Regions from separate parts of the Homo sapiens genome. Here region 2 is linked to region 1. The links are contacts of gene promoters, found by promoter capture Hi-C in human tissues and cell types (Jung and others, 2019). All regions are on one chromosome and are shown on one strand. Each heading gives the region's core, a stretch centred on a gene start or on the middle of the fragment in contact. The rest is flanking DNA. Distances are from core to core; before and after follow the strand shown.

Region 1 (6,182 bases), core at 3,430-5,929:
GCGGAAAGCTTGGTGGCCAAGCAGTCTGTGTGCTTCCCCGCTGATGGAGAACGTTGCGTTGTTCACAATAGGGCCTCATGGGTGTAGCCGCATGGCAGACCCATGGCTGGCGCAGCTGCCTGTTGCCGTCTGTCTTCAGTAACTGCTGCTCTGTTAACTGTTCTATTCTGATACTACGCGTGTTGTTTTTTACAACAGGTATGTTTTTGTTTCAGAAATATGTATTGCTTTTCTCATATTTTTTGCAAATTGTATTGTCAACATGGGTCATTTAAAGTCCTGTATGAACCATAACCTGCTGTGGTACCTTTGTACATGTTTGATTCTGTATTCTTTATTCCAGTGTGGCATATGTGCCCCTCTGTATCTTTTGAGAAGTGCGGAATAGGTTGCTTCTACCACCTGTTCTTAATGTAACAGTAAAAGTTTTCACATTTTTCTCAGAACTGTTATCTGGAAGCTCTCTTTTTTCCTAAGGGTATTTTAATAACAAATACTGATGCATTTGTATTGAAAGTTGATATCTTGGAATGGAAGGACAGAAGAAAGCTCGCCTCTTGGAACTGTAGTTGGCTCTCCTCTCACTCTGACAGTGCTGCCCCTTTTAGTTTGTAAATCTGTACTTGGTGTGTTTAATTTGAAACCTATCGGCTGCTCTCTTGACTGGGGCACTTAATGTTTCATAAACTAATTTCCTTGGTGTGAAGGAAGTAGAACTTTTGAGCTACCCACTGCATGATTTTAAACTGATTTTAATAGCCTAAGTAATTACTCTTTTTTTTTTTTTTTTTTTGCTTAATGAAATTTTCCAAACATATTAAAAACAGAGGGAATACGCCAGCACATCCCAGTATCCACCAGTCAGCCTGACACCCACCACCACCTGCCAGAGCCCCAGGCAGGAGATAACTACAGGTGTCTGATTCTGGGTGGCTACCATGCTTTCAGGGCCATGAGCGTCTTCATGAGTGGAAGGCAGTTGTAGGGTTCTTGGAAAGGACTCAGACTGACCCCTTCAAGGGCCTGAGGTGAAATTCAGAAACTGCCCATGCAGAGAAGCTGAGCAGCGGGCATCATGGAGCGAGGCGTTGAGAGCTTGCATGTTTGTTGGGTATCAGAGAACAGGGAAGGCCTCTCCTCACCTGCTGCTCCTCCCTATGTGGCAGTGGCATGTCACAGTGTTCTTGATGTTCACACACCTGTGCCAGTCCATTAGCCTCACGGGTCAGAAGGCAGCACGGTAGTTCTTAGTGGAGGTGGGCATCACCAGGAATGCTTCAGTGTGAGCTCCCACACTACAGTCTGGAGGCTCACACCATCCTTGCACACATGGCCTTCCTGTCTTAGATATTCTGCCTTATTTTGGAATGCCATCTTTGCTTGTGGTTTTTCACTTCTGTTAAAGTAGAACATGGGGTTTGAATGGGCCTTTGGTGTAACTAGCTATGGCAAGAATCTTTTAAGAGATGTGCTCTTTGGAGATACAATGTCCTGAGCTTGTTTGCCTTTTCCAGAAGCCACAAAATGGCTTTGAAGATAAACAGGCCCATGCTACAGAGCCACCGGCACAAGGCACCTGGTGTGCAGGAGCTGAGGTGCAGCCTGTGGTTAATTGATAATAATCATGTCCCCACATCTGCACAGTGGGGGCTGTTTCTCTCATTTCACACCCCAGTATCCACCAGTCAGCCTGGTGCATGTGTGCGGGGAATATTTAAAGGGAATGTGACGTTCTGATTTGTCTGTAACATTTCAGTGTCACCTAGTTCAAGGCCAGGTTTACGGGTCCAAATTGTCCATAGTACAGAAGACCATTTATCAGGTGAAGCCCGTAAAGCCATAGGCACAGCTATAACCAAAAGAATTCATGAAAGGAGTAACAACTGAAGGTGAGTGGGTTTCCTCATGTTTGTAAATGCAGGTCACGTTGCAGGCTCTTCCGCCAGCTGTCCGTCCATGCAAGGCAGTTGGTCACCCCGCAGGCTCACTTCGGAGATGAAGAGTGCTGGGTGCAGCAGCGCCTCCTGTCCTTGGGTCTCTGTGTATTTGAGGTGGAATTGATGAGCTTGGGAACCAGGGAGAAGCGGTGGAGCTGCTGTTGCCTTGAGCTGCCCGTGTCAGGCAAGGTCTCCGCCTGGCTGTGACTTCTGCTTCCTGGAGACACATCTGTAGGCGTTCCTCACACAAACAAGGTTTTCTCCCTCTTGTGGATCACGGTGTGTGACTGACAGCTTTGGTAATTTTCCCAGCTGGCTTTGAAAGTGAAGCAGGCTGACCCGTCACCAAGAATTCTCTGCCATGGAGGGTCATGGAAGAACGGGAAGAGGTGCTGGCGGTCACAGCAGCCCAGGGTTCGTCTGTGCTCGTTTATAGATTTGTGTGCCCATCCAGTCCTCACTGGGCCCTCCCAGTTTTAGAAATGTTGAACACTAGTGCTTGTAAGATTCGAACAATGAGTTTACCAGCTCTGAGAAAAATGAACTGCTCCAGAACCTTCAAGAATGTTTCTCTGTATCACGCCCACATCACACCGAATCCATTTGTCGTCATTGCAGAGTTCATCTTTCTGGTTTTGAGCACCATCTCACACAGTTCTTTGTCTTTTTCCAGTCTGCTGTTGACTGGGTTAGCTCAGCCCGAAAGGTGCCCCCACCTTTGAGGCAGTTCCCGCACGTGATGTCCAGTACCGCGGTCTTCCCTCTTGCTGCTGCCTGTCAGTCATGGCAGAGGAAAGTGTCATCTGTCAGTCTCCTTTTCATGGACTCCTCATCTTGAGAATTGTAGTTGGGCTGGAAGGTTGCAGGGCTAAGTGGGGTGCAGGGAGGAGCCCCAGGCCCAGGGCTGGCTTGTCTTGGTTTACAAGAAGCTGTGCGGGGTCTCCTGGGGCGTCTGTGGGGGGTGTGGATGCAGAGGCTGAGCAACGGGCGCCATACGTAGTGAGGTGTGGATTTGCTTTAGGAAAATCTCTAGCATCGTCTCCCTATAGCAGCACTTGAAATAAACAAGAAGTTAGGTGGGCCAGGCCCAACAAGAGGGAGGCACGCAGCCTTCCAGAAGCAGAGGCCAGTGGGTGCTGGCTGTGACTGCCCTGTCCGCAAGGTCACCCTGTGTCCTTGAAAACCCAGGTGTTGACTGTCTATTGTCCCTACATAATTTTTCACCTTAGGCCTCAAAGATGCTTGGGTGCGGGGCAGCTCTCAGAATCCACCAGAAGCGTGGAGAGCCTCCATCTGGCCACTACCAGCACCCAGCTTTATAATGTCCCTGTGAGATGGCCCCTTCACCCACCCAGCCATCCCTGCATGGCCCGTTTCTTCAGCTCATCCAGCCTTCACTCAGGTGTCCAGGGGTGCCTCCTCAGCCCAACCTATTTGAAGTAACACCCCTTCCCTACCCCTTTCACTACTTTGATTTTTGTCTACCTGCCCCAGAACATCAGCTCCAGGAGGAAGGGGACTTTGGGTAACCAGATGGCAAATGTCTGCTGCAGCATGATCACAGATCTCGGTAGGAAATCACCATCACAGAGTGAATGGAAGCGAATCACCTCAAAGAGGGTGCTGTTGACAGCGATACGTTTAGCAACAGTTTCCAAACTTCCTGGCTATGGGCTAGGGCTGTTTGGGGCAATAAACCTCTCTCTGCCACCATCTTTTCACCTACCCTACGTCAGGATGGATGAAAGTATGACCTTGCTTTTCAGGGTGCCCGTGTCTTTCTGTTCAGAGGGCCCTGGGAGCAGGCCCTGCAGTGCAGTGGGTTGGGCTGTTGGAGACCTGAGGGCTAGGGGGAGGGAGGGGGTAAATGTGGGTCTGTTCTAAGTGCAAGGCCCTGCCTTAGACGTGTCTCCCTCGGCCCCTGGGTGGTGGCTGCTGCGTGGAGGATGGACTGAGGTGGGCCCTAGTGGAGGTGGGGGCAACGCCTGAGGAGCAGGCCCTGCCGCCTCCTGGGGAAAGGCTGCATGGTTGAGGCCTTCCCCTGCTGGCTTCATCCTTGGCATGGCAGCAGGAGCACACAGAGTGGGGGCCCCACCCCGTCACCCCTGCCCCCGAGCCCAGAACCTGGCCTGTGATGGGTCCTCAGGACACCTTTTGTCCAGGAACCCAGGGGCCAATGACAACCTTCACAGGCATCTGCTGAGAAGACATGGGCCAGCGCTGGATTTGTCCAGCTCTCCCAGGCTTGGTCCAAGGGCTCAGGAGTGGACCCATCCCTGCCCCGAAAGATCCATTTTAAAAATCAGTGACCCTGTACTTTTACTCTCTTTGCACTTGGTTAAGACTTTATCCCTGATTTTATTTGATCGGTAAGGCAGGGACTGCCATCATTCCCCATTTTATAGACAGAGGACAGACGGCCCCATGGCTCCGTGTCGTGTCCAAGGGATGGGCTGGCACCTCTTGGACCAGGCTTACCACCAGGGCCCTTCTCTGAAGCCCCAGTCTGACCGGCCTGCTGCTGGGAATCCCCCTCTGCCCCCACACTAACCTCTGCTGGGGCTGAGCCAGGGCGCGTCGGACAGTCAGGGCGACCCAGCCAGGGCGACCGTTGGCCCCGCTCCTATGGGGCAGCAGGGACCGACGTCAGCAGGGTGGGGCGGGCACCCGAGTGGTATGCCCCGCCCTGCCCCGCCTGCCCGCCCTGGTGGCCGTCTGGGGGCGACAAGTCCTGAGAGAACCAGACGGAAGCGCGCTGGGACTGACACGTGGACTTGGGCGGTGCTGCCCGGGTGGGTCAGCCTGGGCTGGGAGGCAGCCCCGGGACACAGCTGTGCCCACGCCGTCTGAGCACCCCAAGCCCGATGCAGCCACCCCCAGACGAGGCCCGCAGGGACATGGCCGGGGACACCCAGTGGTCCAGGTGTGGCGGGGGTGAGGGGAGGGGGGGTGGGAGCGGTGGAGATGGGGCCGTGGGGAGGGAGCTGAGATACTGCCACGTGGGACGATGCTAGGTGGGGAGGGCTGAGCTGGGCGGGCTCCTCTGGCTGTGGGGCCCCCTGTGTTCCTTGTGGGAGGTGGAAGGAAGTGAGTGCCCTGTCCTTCCTCCCTGCCATGAGATTCCAGGACCGGACCTGGCAAGTGCCCTATCCCAGCCAGTGTTCCTGGGGCTCTTCCAGGCAGGGCTATGTTCCCCAGGCCAGGGGCATTGTCCTGGACAGTCAGGAGGCATACCCCTCGCCAGGTGGAACCACCCTGTGTATGCATGACCCTGACAAGCAGGCGCCAGGACAGTCAGGAGGCCAGGTAGGGGGCACGGGCTGGAGCCTGCAGCTGGACGGGGTTGGGGGGGGTCCTGCCACCACGTGCCAGCTGTGTGCTGAGGACGAGCTCCCCGCTGGCTTCAGCTCTCGGAGCATTTGGTGGTGGGGAGAAGCAGGGCCTGGGCAGGTCGCCTGGCCACCAGCACTGCTGCCTGTAGGAGGCTCCCTGGGCAGGTGACGCCTCAGAAACCGGGCGAGATGGTGACCGCGGGCCATTGGTCAGCTGGGGAGGGCCTCTGCCAGGGAGCTCCTGAGAGCAGCCCCCACACTGCTGAACCCCTTGGCTCTGGGTCTTGGGCTGAGGCCTTAAGTGGCTGGACCCTGGGCCTAGACTCAGGCCCTGTGGGTTCCAGAGCAGTCTCCTGCCTGCACTGAGTCCCCAGGGTACCTACCCTGACCATGGCAAGGTAATGGCACCTTCTGGCCCCACCAGTTCCCAGCTGTATGAGGGCTGAGGACCCTAGAAGTGCTGGGAAGAGTTGTAGGAAGGCCCAAAGGGGCAGTGCCACCATCGGATGTTGGCACCCAGATGAAGGGAGCGCTGGCTGCATGGGAAAAGCTGGCAGCCCAGATCACAGCCCTGTCAGGCGCCAATTAGAGGGGAGGGCTGCCCTCAGCGGGCCCTGCCCCTTGCTCTCTTCCTCTTCCCCCACCCACGTTCATCCAGGCCTGCCGGGCAGGGCCAGCTCCCCAGGGATTCAGGGCCTCCTCACTGGCGGCTGGTTTGAGTGGCTCCGCCTTCACTACGTCCCTCCCAGGCTCGATGTTTAAAAAGGAGCCCTTGCCGCAGCCTTCACTACGTCCCTCCCAGGCTCGATGTTTAAAAAGGAGCCCTTGCCGCAGCCTTCACTACGTCCCTCCCAGGCTCGATGTTTAAAAAGGAGCCCTTGCCACAGCTCTTCAACTTCCTTTGCAGGCCCTT
Region 2 (6,182 bases), core at 1,402-3,901, 260 kb after region 1:
ACAGCCCAGCTCTTAGCTGCCTCCCCAGACCACAATTCCAATCATCCAGAGCTAAGAATAACCAGGAAGCTTCAGAAACACACACACACCTCCACTGCGTCAAAGGCAAGACACACCACTGACCCACAAACACTAGAGCCAACTAGACCTGTTTGCATCCCAGCCCCAGTGGGATGCCGCCTCCTCCACAGGGAAAATCATTTTCACCCCACTGATGCCCAAGGTTAACAGGAGTCACATCTTCATGAGCAGTCTATCATTCCTAATACTTTATAGTCTGCTGCTTTGTTGTTTAGGATAATTTAAAAATCAGAAATGACAGTAAAGGTACAAAACAATTAAAACCAACTTAAAAACAAATATATGCTAACAAAATAAACTCACCTGATTTGACTGTCCAGTAAGGTAGGGCTCAAAGTCATTGTCATGAACTGTATCCTTCTGATGTAACGAACCATTTTGTACTAGAACAAAAAGTTGCAAAATATTACCCTCAAATTTTAAAAGATTACTTTTAAGCTTGGAAGGCAAAGTTAGCAAAGTCTATTTCCATCTATTTCTAGCAGAAATTATGCTTTAATTTTAAAAGGAGTACAACCAGTATAGAACTGATGTTTATACAACTAATTAGAAGGGGGACGGGAAACTTTCAATAATTTAGGATAAATTTTAAATAAAGGCTTAATCGTAATTTGGTGAGATTAACCAAATCAAGTGTTAACACATAATGCAAGGAACACATAACCAGGGTGAAAACTGACATGGTCTAAGAAGACTTATGTGTGGCAAAAAGAAGTGGAGCCTCCAAAAGCCCAAATGCAGAATGTATGCCCAAACGTATGGAGAACGGAGGGAAGAAAACTTAGGAGGGAAGGGGCTGCAACTGAAGGACTGTTGGGAGCTATTATCTGACTCTCCACAGTGAACCCCAAATATCTGAGACAGGTCTCAGTTAATTTAGAAAATTTATTTTGCCAAGGTTAAGGACACACCCATGATACAACCTCAGGAGGTCTTGACAACATGTGCCCAAGGTAGTCGGGGGACAGCTTAGTTTTATACATTTTAGGGAGACATGAGAACCATCAATGTAAGATGTACATTGGTTTGGTCCGGAGAGGCGGGACAACTTGAAGCAGGGAGGGGGCTTCCAGGTCATAGGTAGATAAGAGACAAACGGCTGCATTCTTTCGAGTTTCTGATTAGCCTTTCCAAAGGAAGCAATCAGATAAGCATTTATCTCAGTGAGCAGGAATGACTCTGAGTTCTGTCCTTTGTCCACCAGGAATTTCCTTGTGGGCAAACTGTGGGGGAAGTATGTAACTTTTTTTGTCTTAGAAGCTATCTTTTTCAGGAATAGAATGGGAGGCAGGTTTGCCCTCAGCAGTTCTCAGCGTAGCTTTCTCCCTTTGGCTCAGTGATTTGGGTGCCCCAAGACTGGTTTTCCTTTTACACCACTTACCTTCCCACTGTTATTATGCTCAGCCAGAAAAAGCAAGCAAAGGTAAATAAAGTGCTGGGCCTTTTCCAATCTTAAAACACGATGAACCGTATTTGGTTACACCTGAGCTGACACACAAACTGGCTAAAAAAGTGTTCCAAGTAAACGTGAAGTGTCACTTAACAGTTTTCACATGAGTGCGCTCTGAGGGTTTATCCCAAGCCATAATGTCACAGGAGATGCTAACAGACTTGGAAAACGGGCTGCAACTACCGGGGATGTGGAGCTTAGCCTGCAGAACCTTGGACTGCCCCTCTCCTAGAGCAGCCCCTGCTGGGCGGAAAAAGGCAAGTCGCTCAACCCCTGCGGCCATGTCCACCCGGCTCTCCTACCTCCCCTTCCCCAAAGCAAATCCATGATCATGCGGTGGGGAGAGACGGGCCCAAACTACTCTGAGCAATCATTTATTCACTTCTTGAGAAGCCCCTGTCTTCGACCTGTCAAATCTCCCAGAATCGTCGCACAACCTCAAGTTTTATCTCCCTGAAGCTGGCGGAAGAGAGAAAGTTTCCGGTTCCAGACGCAGCTTCCTGGACCGTTCCTTCCCCGTCCTCCTCCACTCCAGCCCGCGCCGGCCGTCCCGGGACTCCGCTCACCTTTATTATCTTGTCCTTTTGTTCTCTGCACCGCCGCAGGCCGGGACGTGGGGTACACACAACCCGGGGGAAGAGGGAAACACAAAGTTATTCACCAGAGAACTGGTCTCCAACGGGCCGCGAGCTCCGCCGGCCCCGACGCGCGGTCACGTGCGACCCCGGCCCCGAGACCCCGGTCCCGCCTGGGCCCGGCCTCCGCGACCCCGGGCTCTGCGTTCCAGCCCCAGGACCTCAACCCAGACCCCGCGCCTCGGCCCCGGCCGCGGCCCCTGTAACCCGGCCCCGCTACCTGGGTGTCCACGCTGGTGGCCGACATGCTTCATGAACAACTAGACGCGGGGCCGGGGCGCCCGCCGGCTCGGGCCTCCCCTAGAGGCCGGGCCTGTCACCCTAGCTCGCGCGGCCCCGGGCCCCGCCGCCAATTCCCCGGGCGCCGGCCGGGCGGCGGCGGCGGCTGCTGGGCGCGCGGGCCCCTGGCGAGGCGGCAGCGGCGGTGAGCCCGGGACGCGGACGCACTGAGGAGGCGTCGACTCCAATGGCGGCGGCGGCGGCGACAGCAGCGGCGACGGCGGCGGCAGGGGACGAGACTGCGCGGCGTCAGCGTGCACGCGGGGCAGGCCGGGAGCGCCGCGCCGGGCCGCCACACTTCGCGCCTGCGCGCTCCCGTCTTACGGGATGGATTTCGCTCTCAGGTCCCAGTCTCGTGCGGCGGGGCGGGGACCGCAGCCGGCTGGGCGGGGAAGCCCTGAGCCGGGGAAGTCACGTGGGGCGTGTCCGGAGGCGCCGCGGGGCCTGGCGGGAAGGGGCTGGCGGGCTGCTGCCAGGTGTACAGCCGCCCACACACACCCCGGCCACAGCCGCACCCCCGACGCGCTACCGGCACTGAGGCCTCTGTAGTTTTCCCCAAGGTCCGAAGACTAAACGCTGTTCTGGTCCGACAGCTGGGCTACGGGTCTGTCCGGGGTCGGTCTGCCCTTCCCCCGCGCGCAAACACCTGCCCGCCCAGAGCTCCGAGCCCCCGCGTGTTCCAGGTCGCGCGCCTCGGCCCTTGCCGCGGGACCTGCGGGCTTTGTTCGCTTTGCGGCCCTGGCCTTCAGCCGCAGCGGAGCCCTGGGCCCGGTCCCGGAGGTCAGCTGTTGTGTGGATGCACCCCTGGACCTGCGAGAGGCTCGCCGGCTTATAACCAAGTTCTCATGTTAGATTCTTGACCCCGATTTCATCACCAGGAGGAAAAGCAGTGCTCTGTGCCCCAGCCTAGGCCGGGCCAGGGGACTTGTCATCTTTGTTCGAGGATGGACAGCCCCTTCTTAGCAGCAACTGTGCAAAGAGAGCCCAGTTCTCAGTTCCTAACCCCTCAGCATCCCCAACCTGGACGCCCTTCTGGTCAAGGTGTTGAATTTCGCTCCCTGCAGCCAGTATCCAATCCTGCCACCCTTGTGGCTAACTCCCTACAGAGGCTTCCAGGTTGATATTTTTCTTTCCAGCTCTGGCAGCTGTAACATCTTCACGTGGCCTGGATCTGGGTCCTGCTAAAGGAGAAAGACCTGGAATGGGGTGTCAGGCAGGTTGACGTCAAATGAGTGTTTTCCACAAAGTGGGCCCGGGCAGATGCGCTAAGCAGGGTGAACAGTGACAGCAGGGACGGCAATGGAGTCCCAAGACGGCTCCAAGCCTGGACATCCGCATCAGTGGGGTAGCAGACAGCCTCTCACACTGCTGCAGGAGGAGGTGGAAACTGCCCCCAGCAGGCCGGTCAGCCACAGAGAGGACTGCTGCTCCAAGTTGCTCCAGGTCTCCCTGGAGCCCTGCCTCGCCTAAAGCTGGGGAAAGCGGGCTGGGCTTGTTTCCCTGGAACAGAGCTGGGGGATGTCTGGTGCCCTGAGGATGAATCTGGATCCCCTGGGACTTTGATGTGTTTGGGCCATGGGCAGACATCTCAGGCCAGGATGAAATCTGTGCATTTGGGGTACATCCGAAAATGAACAGCACGTTTCCAGGATGGTGGCCCACATGGAGAAGATGTGTGGGGATTGTAGGGACAGTGGGGTCCCTGGGGGCACCCTGCCACCTGCTTCTGTGTGATAAGGCCTGCGCATCCTGGGCAGGCCCTGAGTGCCTGCTTCCCAGGACACTGAACTGTTTGGCGGCCAAGACTGCAGCAAGGGGGTGTCTGGGTGGTCAGAGTAGACACTCGGACTCTTGGAGCCCCTGTCTGTCTTCTCACCCAGCTCCCATCCCTGGGCCAGGACGGTGCAGTGGTCACCACTGGAGTTCAGAGCCTCACAGCCAGTTACAGGGCCTTCAGCCTCAGGCCTACTTTCCTCCTCCGTGGTGGGTTAATTACTCCCCTTTCACAGGATGAGTGTGTGGAAGAAACTGGGTATGCAGCCCTTGGCGTCAGGCCAGGGCTCTGTCAACACTGGCTGTTACCTGCTGCCTTCACCCACAAATGCCCAGCCAGTCACAGGAGGCAGCACTGGCCCTGCGGGAAGTGGCCACTCCGAGCTTAGGGGCCTTCTTAGATGGCTGAGTGCCGGCAATGCAGGACCCTGGAGGTGTTTCAGTTTCCTGGAGCTATCTCAACAAAGTACCCGGAACTGGGGGGCTTAAAATAACGGCAATTTATTCTCTCCCAGTTCTGGAGGCCAGAAGTCTCAGATCAGTATTGCTGGGCTGAAGTGGAGACAGAAGCTCCTTCCAGGGCCCTCGGGGAGGATCCTAGCCTCCTCCAGCCTCCGGTGGAGGCCGCAGCCCTTCCTGGTCTTTCCTCCTCGCCTCCGTCACCTCATGGCCTTTTCCTCTGTGCCTGTGTCTCTTCTTATAAGGACACTCATCTGGATTTAGAGCCCACCCTAATCCAGGATAACCTCATCGTCTTGTGATTATATCTGCAAAGAACCTATTTCTAAATAAAGTCACGCAGGTACCAGGTGGACATGAGTTTTGGGGGTACACTCTTCAGCTCACTACAGAGATCACTGGGGAGGCCTCACAGTGATGCCTATGGAGAGATTTTGGAGGGTGACTCCTGGGGCTGAGTAGGTTCTACTCACAAATGTAGATGGAAGGAGAGGCCCCCACAGTGAGGCCTGAGGAGGCACCACCATGCCAGCCTAGCCCCACTGGCCAGGGAAGAGGCTGGCAGGATCCCACAGCCACTGCCCGGACCCACCCAGGCTTTTGCTGTGAACTCCAGAAGGCTCCATGCTGACCCTGACATGGAAGGAGACTGGGGGCTGCCCAGGGGCAGGACAGGTCTGGTTGGCGGGAACAGGGGGCCCTAAAGTGAATTGAATGCAGGGGGTGTGGCACCAGCAGGGGGTGCTGAGGTCCCCAGGCCAGCTCTGGGGGGAAAGCCTTTATCTTGGCCAGGCCTGAGGACCTGGGAGGGTGTCACAGAAAACCAGGAGTTGAGCTGCCTGTAACCTTGGAGGGCCACGTCCACTGCCCAGCCTGCCCAGGTTCACACCCCAGCCCAGCTCTCGGCCAGGAAAAGGGAGGTCACCCAGCACCGAATGTCAGGGGACAACTGTCTCTCCCTCACAGGGAGCAGGCAGCTCCTCATGTCATGGATGGAAACGGATCAGAGGGCTTTGGCCACTCCTCTGGGTGGCCCAGCGGTCTTGAGACAAAGCCTGCCATTTCTAAGCCTGTGCCGTCAATGACAGACAAGAGCCCATCCCCTGTGGGCCGTCTGCCTTCAGACGGGAACCTTCTTGCTCGGGGAACCTGTTGCTCATCCAAGAGCCCTTCCTAGCAGTACCCGCTCCTGGCAGCACCCTCAAGTGGTATGGGATTGTCTAAACATGACTAGCATTAGGAAGGTTTGGGTTTTTATTTATTTGAAAGTCACACAGGCGCATGGTTAAAAAGCTATCTTTGCACTCAAAGGATATAAGGTGGGAAGCAAAAACCACCACCCCCAAACCCCTCAGAGAGGGAGCCCTCCAGATGCCTGCCTGTGCATGCAAGCATGAGTCTCTGTCTCCACTATCTGCCCTTGCATCTCACGTGTTGGGAAACCGCACTTTGGGGATCCACAGTGCTGCTGAGTATCAACACCCGCCGTCCACCCACCTCGTCCC

What was found. Contacts are between HindIII fragments. The study calls those that stand out against the background at their distance.
Region 2: a contact is called between the fragment with the promoter of YTHDF1 here and the fragment with the promoter of SLC17A9 in region 1, in 1 of the 25 tissues and cell types used here (dorsolateral prefrontal cortex).

The regions. Positions count from the first base shown.
Region 1 is chr20:62,948,030-62,954,211 of GRCh38, forward strand. SLC17A9 (solute carrier family 17 member 9) reads left to right here and starts at 4,680. Exons shown (of 13, transcript NM_022082.4): 1 at 4,680-4,860. The coding sequence starts at 4,802. It overlaps GID8 (GID complex subunit 8 homolog), which reads left to right. Exons shown (of 5, transcript NM_017896.3): 5 at 1-446. RefSeq lists an enhancer at 4,090-4,919 and silencers at 4,471-4,790, 4,801-4,900. The HindIII fragment of the contact is 20,012 bases long and covers 1-6,182 here.
Region 2 is chr20:63,213,480-63,219,661 of GRCh38, forward strand. It overlaps YTHDF1 (YTH N6-methyladenosine RNA binding protein F1), which reads right to left and starts at 2,652. Exons shown (of 5, transcript NM_017798.4): 1 at 2,387-2,652; 2 at 2,098-2,122; 3 at 385-464. The coding sequence starts at 2,413. RefSeq lists silencers at 2,525-2,594, 2,725-3,004. The HindIII fragment of the contact is 8,217 bases long and covers 295-6,182 here.